Regions from separate parts of the Homo sapiens genome. Here region 2 is linked to region 1. The links are contacts of gene promoters, found by promoter capture Hi-C in human tissues and cell types (Jung and others, 2019). All regions are on one chromosome and are shown on one strand. The core of a region is centred on a gene start or on the middle of the fragment in contact, and the rest is flanking DNA. Distances in the headings are between cores, read along the strand shown.

Evidence for each region. The method cuts DNA at HindIII sites, captures the fragments that hold promoters and counts their contacts. A contact is called where the count stands out against the background at its distance.
Region 2: a fragment that was not itself captured here is called in contact with the fragment with the promoter of RBM17 in region 1 in 1 of the 25 tissues and cell types used here (adrenal gland).

The regions. Positions count from the first base shown.
Region 1 is chr10:6,087,450-6,094,122 of GRCh38, reverse strand. It overlaps RBM17 (RNA binding motif protein 17), which reads right to left and starts at 5,089. Exons shown (of 12, transcript NM_032905.5): 1 at 4,930-5,089. RefSeq lists silencers at 4,358-4,417, 4,688-4,777, 4,788-5,227 and enhancers at 3,593-4,431, 5,388-5,437. The HindIII fragment of the contact is 7,744 bases long and covers 1-6,673 here.
Region 2 is chr10:5,703,290-5,709,775 of GRCh38, reverse strand. The region is part of intron 1 of TASOR2 (transcription activation suppressor family member 2); the gene reads right to left. Among named protein-coding and RNA genes, the nearest start is that of TASOR2, 22 kb to the right of the region's middle. The HindIII fragment of the contact is 5,209 bases long and covers 2,360-6,486 here.

The DNA.
Region 1 (6,673 bases), core at 3,840-6,339:
GGCACCTGTAGTCCCAGCTACTCAGGAGGCTGAGGCGGGAGAATGGCGTGAACCCAGAAGGCAGAGCTTGCGGTGAGCCAAGATTGCACCACTGCATTCCAGCCTGTGTGACAGAGTGAGACTCTGTCTCAAAAAAAAAAAAAAAAAAAAAAAATTCCACACTTGACTTCATGTGATGGGTCACAGTCAAAAACAGAGTGAAATCTTTTTGCATGCATAAAATTATTAAAAGTATGACATATATTGCATATTCAGGCTATGTGTAGAAAGTATATATGAAGCATAAATGAATTTTGTGTTTAGACATGGGTCGCATCCTCAAGGTATCTCATTATGTATATGCAGGCATTCTAAAAATCTAAAAATATCCGAAATCTGAAACACTTCTGGTCCCAAGCATTTTGGGTAAGGGATACTCAACCCATTTCTCTTTATAACTTGAGAACTTTACCGAAAGTGTTTATGAATACGTTAGTGCCACCAGAAATGGGTTAACCAAATGCCCATTAAACTTCGAGGGGAAAGATTCACTTATTTATTTTTGCATCTACAATTTCTGTCATATAGCAAGCATTTAATAAGCTTTATTAAAATACTAATAATGGGCCGGCTGCGGTGGCTCATGCCTGTAATCCCAGCACTTTGGGAGACCGAGGCGGGCGGATCACTTGAGGTCAGGAGTTTGAGACCAGCCTGGCCTACGTGGTGAAAACCCATCTCTATTAAAAATATAAAACTAGCCAGGTGTGGTGCTGCACGCCTGTAGTCCTGTCCCAGCTGAGACAAGAGGGTGAGATAGGAGAATTGCTTGAACCCGGGAGGCGGAGGTCGCAGTGAGCCAAGATTGCACCACTGCACTCCAGCCTGGATGATAGAGCGAGACTGTCTCAAAAAAATAAAATAAAAAATAAATAGGCAAAGAGGCAGCACTGGGGAATAAGGGAAGGAAGTAACCCCCAGAGAGGGAGGCAACACTCCTCACCCTCCCCAGAAGAGTCAACTCTGATGAAAAGAGTTCTCTAAACTTTGAGGCTAAAAATCTAGCAGTGTACTAGATCTCAGCTGCCAACAGTTCTTCCATCAATAGATTCAATATTTAGCAAAAATTAAATAGTGAATTAATGAGATTTTATGAGACCACACATCTCCTCTGATTCCATGTCATTTAAGATGGCTGACTGACAATTCCAGTTGATTTGCTGCATTGCGCAAAAGTTTCAGAAATCATCAGGCAGCAAATCTCATGCTCATTTAAAGGTCCTCATTTCTCTTCTCAAACCTGCAAAACGCTTTAAATATTAGAAACTGATGTCATCTTACCAGCACCTGCTAGTTTTCTGTAACATTGAGCTTATAAAATCAAATCTCTGCATCACAGCAAATGCAAAAGTGCTTTCTTCGTTTTTCTCATTTTCACTGAATTTTAAGTTCACAGAATGGGATTAATCATAGTAACATCACACTCTCATCCATTCACACACTTATTACCTGCTTTTGTTTAATTATTATAATGCTGCAAGCACCTGTGAATTCACCACCCAAAACAAGACAGGATCTAGACTAAGAAACCACACTCAACCATACTACTCCCCCAACCCATTCATGTAATTTCCCCGGAATCCTCTTCTCATTATTTCCTTGCTTTCCTCCTTTTATGTTAATTTTATTTACAGTTTTAGTTAATCTATTCCTTAAAAAGTGTGTATTCTTTATTTTCGCTATATTAAGCATTTAATATACAATAGTTTGTTCATTAATTCTCCCCACCGCAACTACTGAAATGTAATAAGTACATTAATAAGACTGCCAAGACCCAAACTTACCCTAATTAACGTTGACATTATTACTTAGACAACATAACACATTTATTTCATTAGGTCTGCTGCCAGGTAACAAAAAGCTGTACTTTGTAACAACTGGATATACCATAAGAAGCCAGGATCAAAAGTAAATACAAATTGCTGGTTTTTATAACTTTAAAATATTTGCTATTTCCTTCCTTTTTGTGGCAACACTTCCCTTTGAGCAACCCACGTTTCATATATGCTACATTTTTTCTTAGGAAACATAACAAACATGGTTCTGCCAGAAGGAAGAATGGTGAGTTTTCAAGATTCCACCCAAGCTGGAAAGTATTTTTTTAAAACATGTGCAACTGGCAGGAAAAAGAACATGGAAGAGTCTTCTCAGAAGCACCCCACCTACTTATCTTTCAAGTGCATCTCAGAAGCCTTTAGTGACTATTGCCCCCACATAAAACTAACCCCCCCCAACTGGTTTCCTCAAGCATACTCAGATCACAGCAACCTTGGCAAGTTATGCTGCCTATTGTTTCACACAGCGGTTTCTTCCTGCAGTGTAAGCCCCCTAAAGGCAGGGGTGTTTCTTATGTTCAGCTTTGTATCTCTAGCTCAGCACCATGCTTGAACATTGTTAAGTGGCTCTATTAATATTTTTTAAATGTGTTAGTGAATGGATGAAAAATGTTAGTGCACCTATTTAAATCACATTATTATGAAACAGTGAGATCTGCAGATCTGCTTTTTAAGCACATAACTTATGATAAGTAGGATAAAATTTAAATTGCAAACCATAATTAAGGAGAAAAAAACTACCACCACCACACAACCAATAACGAGTCAAGGTCTGAGTTCTGAGCACCTAAAGAGGCAGGCTTGTTAGCAAGAAATATTTCTATCACTAAACAGATATTCATGCATCATAAAACAAAGCATGCCTCTTTGAAGCCTAAAGAATATGGCAAGACCGGGCCCAGTGGCTCACGCCTGTAATCCCAGCACTTTGGGAGGCCGAGGCAGGAGGATCACTTGAGATCAGGAGTTCGAGACCAGCCTGGCCAACATGGTGAAACCCCGTCCCTACTGAAAATACAAAAATTGGCCGAGCATGGTTGCGAGCGCCTGTAATTCCAGCTACTCAGGAGGTTGAGGCCAGAGAACCATTTGAACCTGGGAAGTGGAGGTTGCAGTGAGCCGACTTACACCGCTGCACTCCAGCCTGGACTATAGAGTGAGACTCTGTCTCAGGAGAAAAAAATATATGTATATAAATATATATATAAAAATATATAAATATATATAAATATATAAATATTTATATATTTATATACATATATATGGCAAATATACCCAGAAAGGAACAGGAGGGGTGGTGCACTTTGGTGTCCGCAAAAAATACAGCTTAAAAAGCATCTACCTCAAGTATAAGATCTACCATGACTTTCTAAAGAATTAAAAAAAAATTTTTCCCATACCTCCATCTGACGCCCTTGTCAGTTTAATCTTTCCATTCAATCCCACCCTCTGGCTGTTACCAAAATGCCATAGGCTAGTATTGCAAACACAGTCCACTACAGTCACCTGTAATTTAGGCGAATAACAGAACTTCCTTCACTATTGACTATTATGAAAGGTTTGAGAGATGACTAGCCTGGGATCATCTGTTCCCTGCTGGGAGGAGGTCTGAAAAATTCATAGGCAGGGGAGAATGGGAAGGTAAGTTAAAACAAACCAGGTAAAAAGAAATCCACTTTAAATAAAGCTGCATTTGGAAGTGTACAACAATTCTCTCAAGAGCCTCCAGAAAGGCTGCCTTTGGTTCCGCAGAGCTCCACAACCGCACAACCTGCTCTGTTATAAACTGGACAGCACGCAGCACCTTGCTTAACTAACTCTAAAAATAAAGCCCTCTCGTTTAGCTCACTAAACTGTTACCCCATATTCCCTAAAAGCTGTCATTACGATCAAAATGTCTGCAGCCTTTACAACTAAAAATGTGGAAACTTGTGTTGCATCCTTTTAAAAACTCCATCTGCTGCGGGGAGCCAGTGCACATCTACCCATCTATTTGAGTATATGCGAATCTTGCCCTTATCTAGAATATCCTATTTCCCATCCATATGCCTGGCTCTAGCAAAATAAGGACCCTCAATGGCGCTTCTTTACTGCTTCTCAAGAAACCTCCATGTTCTGACCTGACTACTCCTGGAAACACAGCAGCCCCTCCTCAAACCTTTCTTTCTGCCTAACCTGCAGCTTCCAGAACGCACTACGGGGCTTCGCTTCTGCTACTTTCGCACTTACTTCCTCCGCCGGCAGCCTTTTTCCCACCTCTCACATCTAACAACGTACCTTCAAGACTCAACATAAGCATGACCTCCTCTCTCAAGAGAGGTCCTTCCAGACCCCACTTGCGTTTCTCAAATCAACCCGGGCCTGGGTTTTCACGCCTGCTTTCCCAGAAACCAAACTCCTGCAAGCAGGGGCAGAACCTCATTCCACCTGCATTCTCCGATCATTACACATTCTCGGGGCAAGAGGCGAAGCTCAAAGACTGCCTGGGGTCGGACGTGAGCGCTGAAACACCGCTCAAACTGCACGAGCCGAGGCGACGCCGGGGTTAGGGCTGCATTCCTGTCCCGGGCAGCTCCGGAGTCTGAGAAACGCCAACGTCTGCACTCCCAGTTCTGAGACCCCGGGAGGAACCGGCTCCGAGCCCCAGAGAGGGGCAACCGTGCAGGGCCAGGGGGGACACGCTACGGGCTACTCGGTTCTGGTGACCAGACAATTTCGTCAGGATGCGGTGCACGAGACGGAGAAGAAACGCTCTTCAGCACCAAACAGCCCGAGGCAGACATGAGGAGGAGGAGGAGGAAGGGAAGAGGGAGAAGGTCAGGGCCAGGGTCACCAGAGGCGGCGGCGGGCGGAGGGTACCGGGCCGCAGCCGCGTGGAGAGACCAGCGCCCGCCGCGGGGACTGAGACCCTCGGAGGCTCCGGCTGCGCTGGCCCGGCCTCCGCCCCTCGCGACGGGCCTAAAGCCGCGGGCTTGCGTCTAGCGCCTCCCGGGAAGGCGCGCCCGCCTCAGGTCCCGCCAGGCCACCCACCCGGGGCCGCCGGGGCGCCACTTACCCGGCCCGCCCGGCCGACTCTGCCCATGAGCCGCGCCGGCGGCAGAGCGGAGCCGGGCGGCACTCCGCGGAAACCCGCCAGCGGCAGGAGGCCTCGGCGGCGCCCACCCTTCGCTGAGTCCTCAGGGCGCTCGGCGGCGCGGGGTCAGGGAGCGCGGGCTGCCGGGAGAGCGCGCCCGCGCCTGCGCCCCGCCTGCGCCTGCGCCTGCTTCGGCCTCTGCGCCTGCGCCGAGGGCGCCTTGCCGCACTGCCCCCTGCCCGCGGGAGGACCGCACTGCACGCTCCCCTCCGCCGGCGTCTTCTTACCATCAAGAGGTGTCGCCCTGGCGCACATTTTCGAAATTCCACAAGGCTTGGGGAGCGCGGCAGCGCCCCCAGATGGTGAGGAGGAGAAGTGGTCCGAGGCCGGGCTTTCTGATAGGGGAGGTGGGGGAAGTCCCTCCAGGCCCCTCGATCTCATTCATTCAAAGCCACTCCTATATAAGCAAAAAGTTGAAAATAAGTCTGCATAGGCCAGATGCTGCAAAAGGATGGCAAGGAGCACGAGGTTAAGCGTAAGATTATGGAAACAGATGCCGCGATTAGGGGTACAGAAAAGAATGTCAATGCTATAAAGCCTCGGTCTTTAAAAACGACGTCGCTGACAGAAGCAGGGAGGGAAAGGGAAAGTGGGACTTCGGGTAAATATGATTTTTACATCTGTAATTAATTGGGTGTCAAATAGAGTTCAAGCCGATAAATCAAATAGTAGAGATTTAAGCAGACGTCTTAGTCCGAAGGAGTATACCAAGAAAGTTACTATAATCCATTAAAATCCAGTCATTAAGAAAACGGGAAAAGGGGGAAAAAAGAAATACAGTGGAGAGACAAAAGACAATCTAAAGAAATAGAGGATTAAGGACGTCATGGGATGGTATGATTCTGAGGGTAACCCAGAACAAAACTACAAAGCTTTCAAATAATCCACACATACATGCACCCACACATACATGCATGCACACACACACACACACACACAAAACCACAGCAAAAAAAATATATATATAGGGAAATATTTTAAAAAGTTACAAAACAGAAAGCGTAACCAAACTATATGACAGAACAAGACCAAATGTCTCACAAGAAGAAATATAGACCTAAGCTTACCTACTAAAAAACTACAATCTCAGATAGGAGCACAAACCATCATGCAACTCAGTGTTGTATACAAGAAAGTGCTAACGTTATTCTGAGTTTGAAAATACAAGATTGGAAAAGATATACCAGGAATATGCAAAAAAATTAAAAAAATCAGGAATCACAAACCGCTTACTACAAAGTTGATTTCAGGGCAAAAAGCATTAAGTAAGATTAAGAAGGACATTTTATAATCTTGAGGAGCACAATTCACAATCAAGAAAAAAATAGGAAAAATAGGAAAATCTTTGCACCAAATCACATAATCTCATTATTCATAGCAAACACTGTAGGAGTGAGTGAATAGACAGAAATAATTGGCACACTCCTTGCCAGACGAAGAGTACAAAAAGTAAATGGGGATTGAGAAGACCTAAAAATACAATTCCTATGATAGATCTAATATATCAAACACTGTCCCCTAAATAGACATTACATCTTTTCCAGTGTCTAAGGAATATTCACAACAATTAGTCATATTTTAAACCACAGAGAAAAATCTTAACATAGTCCAATAAGTAGAATCATATCGGTAATATTATCTGCAGCAATTCAATAAAAGTAGAAAT
Region 2 (6,486 bases), core at 3,715-6,214, 380 kb after region 1:
AATTTTTTAAAGTCTTTTTGTTTTACATGATCTAAATTAAAACTAAAAACATTTTAATCATTCTATTCTGGATTCATTAGTTATGACTTATAGCACTTAGTTTAATACCCACTCTTTTCTGATAGGGACCCTGTCTCGATCTTCTCTAAGAGAGAATGTAGCTGGGAGGGTGGTCTTAATTCATTTTCACCAAGTATACCCTCAGAATTCTTGACATAGTCCTGTTCTCTGTTAATGTCATAAATGCTAAAATGAAGAAAGAAAAAAAATCATAAAGTGAACAATTCTATTTATAGCATATTTACTATAGAAACAAATGTTCGCTGAGTAATTTGTATTAGGAATAATTATGTAATATTTATTTACCTCCTTTGACAAGTATTCTCAGCTAAGGACTTAATTTGTTCTATAAGCTATAACACATAATCTGAAATGTTTTTCCTCCAAAAGTCTTTAACTTCTAAAGAAAATTTTGTACACAGAAATATATTATGCTTAATCGCTTTTGCCTTACTGAAAAAAAATCTTTCAAAATGAAGAGATCACAGAACCACATCTTTATTCCACTAGTTGAAAATAACGGAATCAAGCAGAACACAATTTACAAAAATCTCTCTCCTCCCCCAAATTAGTTGTATATATATTCATTAAACAAAACTATTAGTGGTGACTATTATGCATCCAATATCATGCTAAATCTTGGATTTATCAAGACAAATGGCAAACAGTCTCTATTACAGGGAAACAGGCTCTACATTAAAAAAGTTCAGATTAGGCTGGGCGAGGTGGCTCATGCCTGTAATCCCAGCACGCCGGGAAGCTAAGGCAGGCAGATTGTTTGAACTCAGGAGCTTGAGACCAGCCAGGGCAACAAAGTGAGACCCCACCTCTATAAAAAATACAAAAATTAGCCAGGCATGGTGGAGTGCACCTGTAGTCCCAGCTACTTTGGAGGCTGAGGTGGGACGATGGCTTGAGTCTGGGGGGAAGAAGTTGCAGTGAGCTGAGATTGCACCCCTGAACTCCAGCCTGGGTAACAGAGCCAGACCATGTCAGAAAGAGAGAAAGAGAGGAAAGGAAAGAAAGGAAGGAAAGGAAGGAAGGAAGAAAGGAAGGAAAGGAAGGAAGGAAGGAAGGAAGGGAGGAAGGGAGGGAGGGAGGGAGGGAGGAAGGAAGAGATAGAGAAAGAGAGAGAAAAGGAGAGAAAGAAAGAAAAAGAAAGAAAGAAAGAGAAAGAAAGGAAAGAAAGAGAAAGCAAGCAAGTTAGCTCAGAATAGACAAGGAAGAAAAATCTGCAAAGAAATTAGTACTATAAATGTGTAGGAGTATCTAAAACATGATATAGTGGATGTACAGTGATACAACCAATTTTATGGAGATGGAGCTATGTCAAGAAAGATTTCATGGAGGCACAGATACTTGAAATCTGGAAGATATTCCAATGAGGAAGCCAAAAAAGGAAACTAGTGTACATTTTCTAGATAGCAGAAATAGTATGAGCAAATGAACAGCGGTTTAAACATGATACATTAAAGGAACTGCAAATAGTTTAATATGACTGATTAAGGGAAGAAGGGAGAGAAGAATAAGAACGAAGAAAAAGATTACAAAGGTGGTCAAGTTTTCAGTTTTTATCATGAGTCTGTGGAATAAGGATTTTCATATGCTTCACAAAAACAGCATGTATAGTTTTACAGCACATTTTCCCCCCAAAAAGAACTGGAGGTAGAATTGTGTGGATACATTCAAAATTTTTTAGGAAAAGTAGCTATGTTGATAATAATTCATGAAGGAGGTTGTTTATGTAGGGGAAAATTAGGAATAGGGAGACCAGGGTTCTGGTCTACCTATTGAACTCACTAGGTGCTACCACTAATGTGTTTTGAGACAGTGGTTAAAGACACATTGGATTGACTTCCCAACAATCATGTCCCTTTTACTTCCCTTCCATAAAACCACAATTTTGTTCAGGTATCAGGTTATCCCATGGTTCAGAAGAAGTGTGTGTGTGTGTGTGTGTGTGTGTGTGTGTGTGTGTGTGTGTGTGTGAAAATGAGTGAGGGAGAGTGAGTATGTGTGTGTGTGGGGTTGGGGGGGGAGACAGAGAGAGAGAGAGAGAGAAAGAGAATGAGAATCTTAATTACTCTAAGATCATTATGGTAATTCCACTCCCTTTGAATAGTGTTTGTTTTAGGAATAAACATGTGACTCAGTTCTGGCCAGTGAGATATAAATGGAAGTCTACAGAGAGAGTTCTGGGAAACCTTTCTTAGAAAAGGACTCCATCTTCTAGCCTAGGATCTTGTCTGAAGATGTGTTGCCTGGATCTCCTTGCAACCAAGATGGCAGCCAACATAGAACGGAACAGAACAGAAAGAAACTAGATCCCTGAACTGATGAAATAAACTAACCTGGGGGCTGCCTCATCTTTGGGCTTTATACATGAAATAATAAATGTTCCTTATTGTTTAAACTTTTATTGGAAGCTGAAGACATACTAACTGATGGATTTTGTTAAATTTATACTCTCTAAGGCCTCCTTTAGTTATAATTGCCTTTCTAAAGCTCCTTTCAGTTGTGACTCTACAAGGAACTTTACTGAAGGCTTGCTGTGCATGAGGCATGGTGCACTGGCATCAGATAACTTAGCAAATTCCTTTTTTCTTTGCTGCCATGGATAGAGACGTTATCCTAGTATTTGTTAGCAAGGAAGCTATTGTTATTAATGATAACAATGGCTAACATTTGTTGGGTGCTTACTTTTTTTTTTTTGAGACGGAGTCTTGCTCCGTGGCCCAGGCTGGAGCGTAAGTGGCTTGATTCTGGTTCACTGCAACCTCCACCTCCCGGGTTCAAGCAACTCTCTTGCCTCGGCCTCCCGTGTAGCTGGGATTACAAGTGCCCAGCAACATGCCCGGCTAATTTTTGTATTTTTAGTAGAGATGGGATTTCACCATGTTAGCCAGGTTGGTCTCGAACTCCTGGCCTCAAGTGATCTGCATACCTCGGCCTCCCAAAGTGCTGGAATTACAGGCATGAGCCACCGTGCTAGGCCTAGGTTTCACTACTTAACTGTATGTATTAATCATTGCTGAGCCATACTGTGTAGTCAAGTTCTTTCCTTATACCGTGTTTTGCTTTTCTGAATTTAAAATAGCTTAATTTTCAGTTACCAATCATTATTTCAGCTTGAAATTCTAGAGAACTAACAATATCCTCTGGATAAAGATAGATCAAAGATTTTGTCTGTTTTGAGCAGCTTCTTTTCTTTTTTTTGGAAGGACCTTTCTGGAGCACTATGTCTTCCAGCTTCAATCTGGGCTTGTGCCCTCTGATATTACTGCCTGGCTTTCTAACTTTGCTGGGGGATGTTAAGACACAAAATTGATCTACAGATTCAACACAATCTCAGTTTGCAGAAACTGATGATCTGATTCTAAAATTTATATAAGAAAGATATAAGCCAAAACAATTTTGAAAAAGAACAAAGCTGAAGGACTCACTACCTGATTTTGAGAATTACTACAAAGCTAAAGTAGTCAAGACAAGGTGGTAATGATACAAAGAAAATGCATATAGATCAATGGAACAGAATAGAGTCCAGATAACAGATTTTCAATATTGCCAGTATAATTCCATTGAGAAAGAATATCTTTGCAATAAATGCTGCTACAGAACAACTAAAACGGAGGAAAAAAACATGAACCTCAAACCTCTACCTTAAACCATAAAATTTAACTCAAAATGAATCACAGACCTAAACATAAAAACTATAACTATTTGGCTAAAATTATAAAATTTAAAAAATCATAGGAAAAAATGTACTTGACTATGGGGTACATAAAGTTTTCATAGGGCACAAAATTAGTGACCTAGAAAAATGTATACATCAGACTTCCTAAAAATTAAAACCATCTGATCTTCCAAGGTATCATTATTAAGAAATGGGAAATATTTGTAAAGTACCTGTACCTAGAATATATAAAAAACTCATAGACACATTTCACAAAATAAAGCATATAATAAAAAGAAACATGGGAAATGGGTCAATATTATTAGTTATCAGGGAAGTGCTAATTAAAACCACAATAAAATACTACTGCTCCAGTAGAATGGCTAAAAAGACTGAAAATACCAAGCGTTGGCAAGGATGAGGAGCCTCTGGAACACTCCTAGTAGAAATATAAAGCCAACTGAAAAATTATATAGCCAATTTAAAAAATAACATCAGTTTCTTATAAACACATACTTACCATATGACCCAAAATTCTATTCCTAGATATTTACCCAAGAGAATAAAACATATCCACAAAAACACTTGCACATGAATGTTCAGAGCAGCTTTTTCACAGTAGCCTAAAACTGGAAGCAACTCCAATATTCATCAATAGGTGAATGGATAAACTTGTATATTCACACATAATAATAATCAGCAATTAAAAAAAGTAAAACTGATATATGCATGCATCTCAAAACATTAAACTGGGCAAAAGTCATCAGACACAAGAGTACATACTGTAAAATTCTATACATATACAGTTCAAGAAGCAGCAAAATTAATCTATAGTGATAAAAAGCATTTCATTAGTTGCCTACAGCAGGGGGCAGGAATAGGAAAATTGACTACAAGTGGGGTATGCACAAGGGAACTTTCTGGGGTGATGGACACACACTATTTTTATTGGTGTAGTCATCACATGGTATATACATTTACCAAAATTCACTGAACTATATACTTAAATTATGTTCATTTTATTGTATGAAAATTAGACCTCAATGAAGTTGAGCTGAAAGCCCCAAAACAAAACCTAATGGTTATGAATTTGGCCACAAAGGAAATTCCAAGAGTACTAAAAAACAACTGATCTCTGACCAAAATCAAGTAAAATGACAATGTAACCATAAAAAGTTAATCTCAAAAGCCTCATGTTTGGAAATTTAAATTTTAAAAATCCTACATATAAATGGTTCATAAGTTAAAGAGTAACATGATCTAAGCTTAAGATATTATCTAAAATAGCTATAAGAAACTGTTCATTTCAAATGTATACACTACAAAAGAAAAACATTTAAAGAATCAATAAGCTACGGTCAATTCAAGAACTCAGAAAATGGAACAACACAGTAAACCCAAAGCAAATAAGAGGAGGAAATAAAAAGAGAAGATCAGATATTAATTAAACCGAAGAAAAAATAGCTGAAAAAAGATTAGCTTTTTGACAAAAAATATTGATATATCTTTAGTCAAATTAATCAAGGACAAAACAAGGCACTGAAAACCAACATTACAAATAAAAAGGAGTGTGATTTATATGTACTATAAATTATAAGGGTAATAGAAACAATTTTTATAGAAAAAATTGAAATCATAGAGAAAACAGGGGAATTTTCCAGAAATAATTTATCAAAACCTACTTAAGAAAACAGAATATACCTACAACTATTAAATAAGTGGTAGAGTTAGTTGTTATAGGTATGTAAGTCTCAAGCCCAGAAGTTTTCCCACATAAACATTATTCTCAAGAATAAAAACTTTCTTTTTTTTTTTTTTTGAGATGGAGTCTCACTCTGTCACCCAGGCTGGAGTGCAATGGTGTGATCTCGGCTCACGGCAACTTTCGCCTCCCAGGTTCAAGTGATTCTCCTGCCTCAGCCTCCCGAGTAACTGGGATGACAGGCGCCCACTACCAGGCCCAGCTAATTTTTGTATTTTTAGTAGAGATGGGGTTTCACCATCTTGGCCAGGCTGGTCTCAAACTCCTGACCTCAGGTGGATCCACCCACCTGGGCCCCCCAAAGTGCTGGGATTACAGGTGTGAGCCACCACGCCTGGCCAAGAATGAAAACTTTCTCAAATTATAAGTCTAGCACAACCTTGAATGAAAACCCAGAAAGGAACAACTATAAAAGAACATTTTAAGGTAACATCACCAATGACAACACATGCAAAAAAATCTTAAATAAAAACATCAGAGGCCGGGCGCGGTGGCTCACGCCTGTAATCCCGCACTTTGGGAGGCAGAGGCGGGCGGATCACGAGGTCAGGAGATCGAGACCATCGTGGCTAACACAGTGAAACCCCGTCTCTACTAAAAATACAAAAAATTAGCCGGGCGTGGTGGCGGGCGCCTGTAGTCCCAGATACTCGGGAGGCTGAGGCAGGAGAATGGCATGAACCCGGGAGGCGGAGCTTGCAGTGAGCCGAGATTGTGCCACTGCACTCCAGCCTGGGTGACAGAGTGAGACTGTCTCAAAAAAAAAAAAAAAAAAAATCAGAAAAACCTAAACTAGCAATATATATAAAATATAAAACAACATGATTGAGATAAAGCTTATGCCAGGAATTCAAGGAAGGAAGGTGTAACATTAGACAATTTATTCATAAAATTAATCATACTGAGAGATTTAAAAAAACCTATGCCTTATTAGACATAAAATTCAACAGCCACTTGTGACTAAAAAGAGAATTCATAGTAAATAGATTAC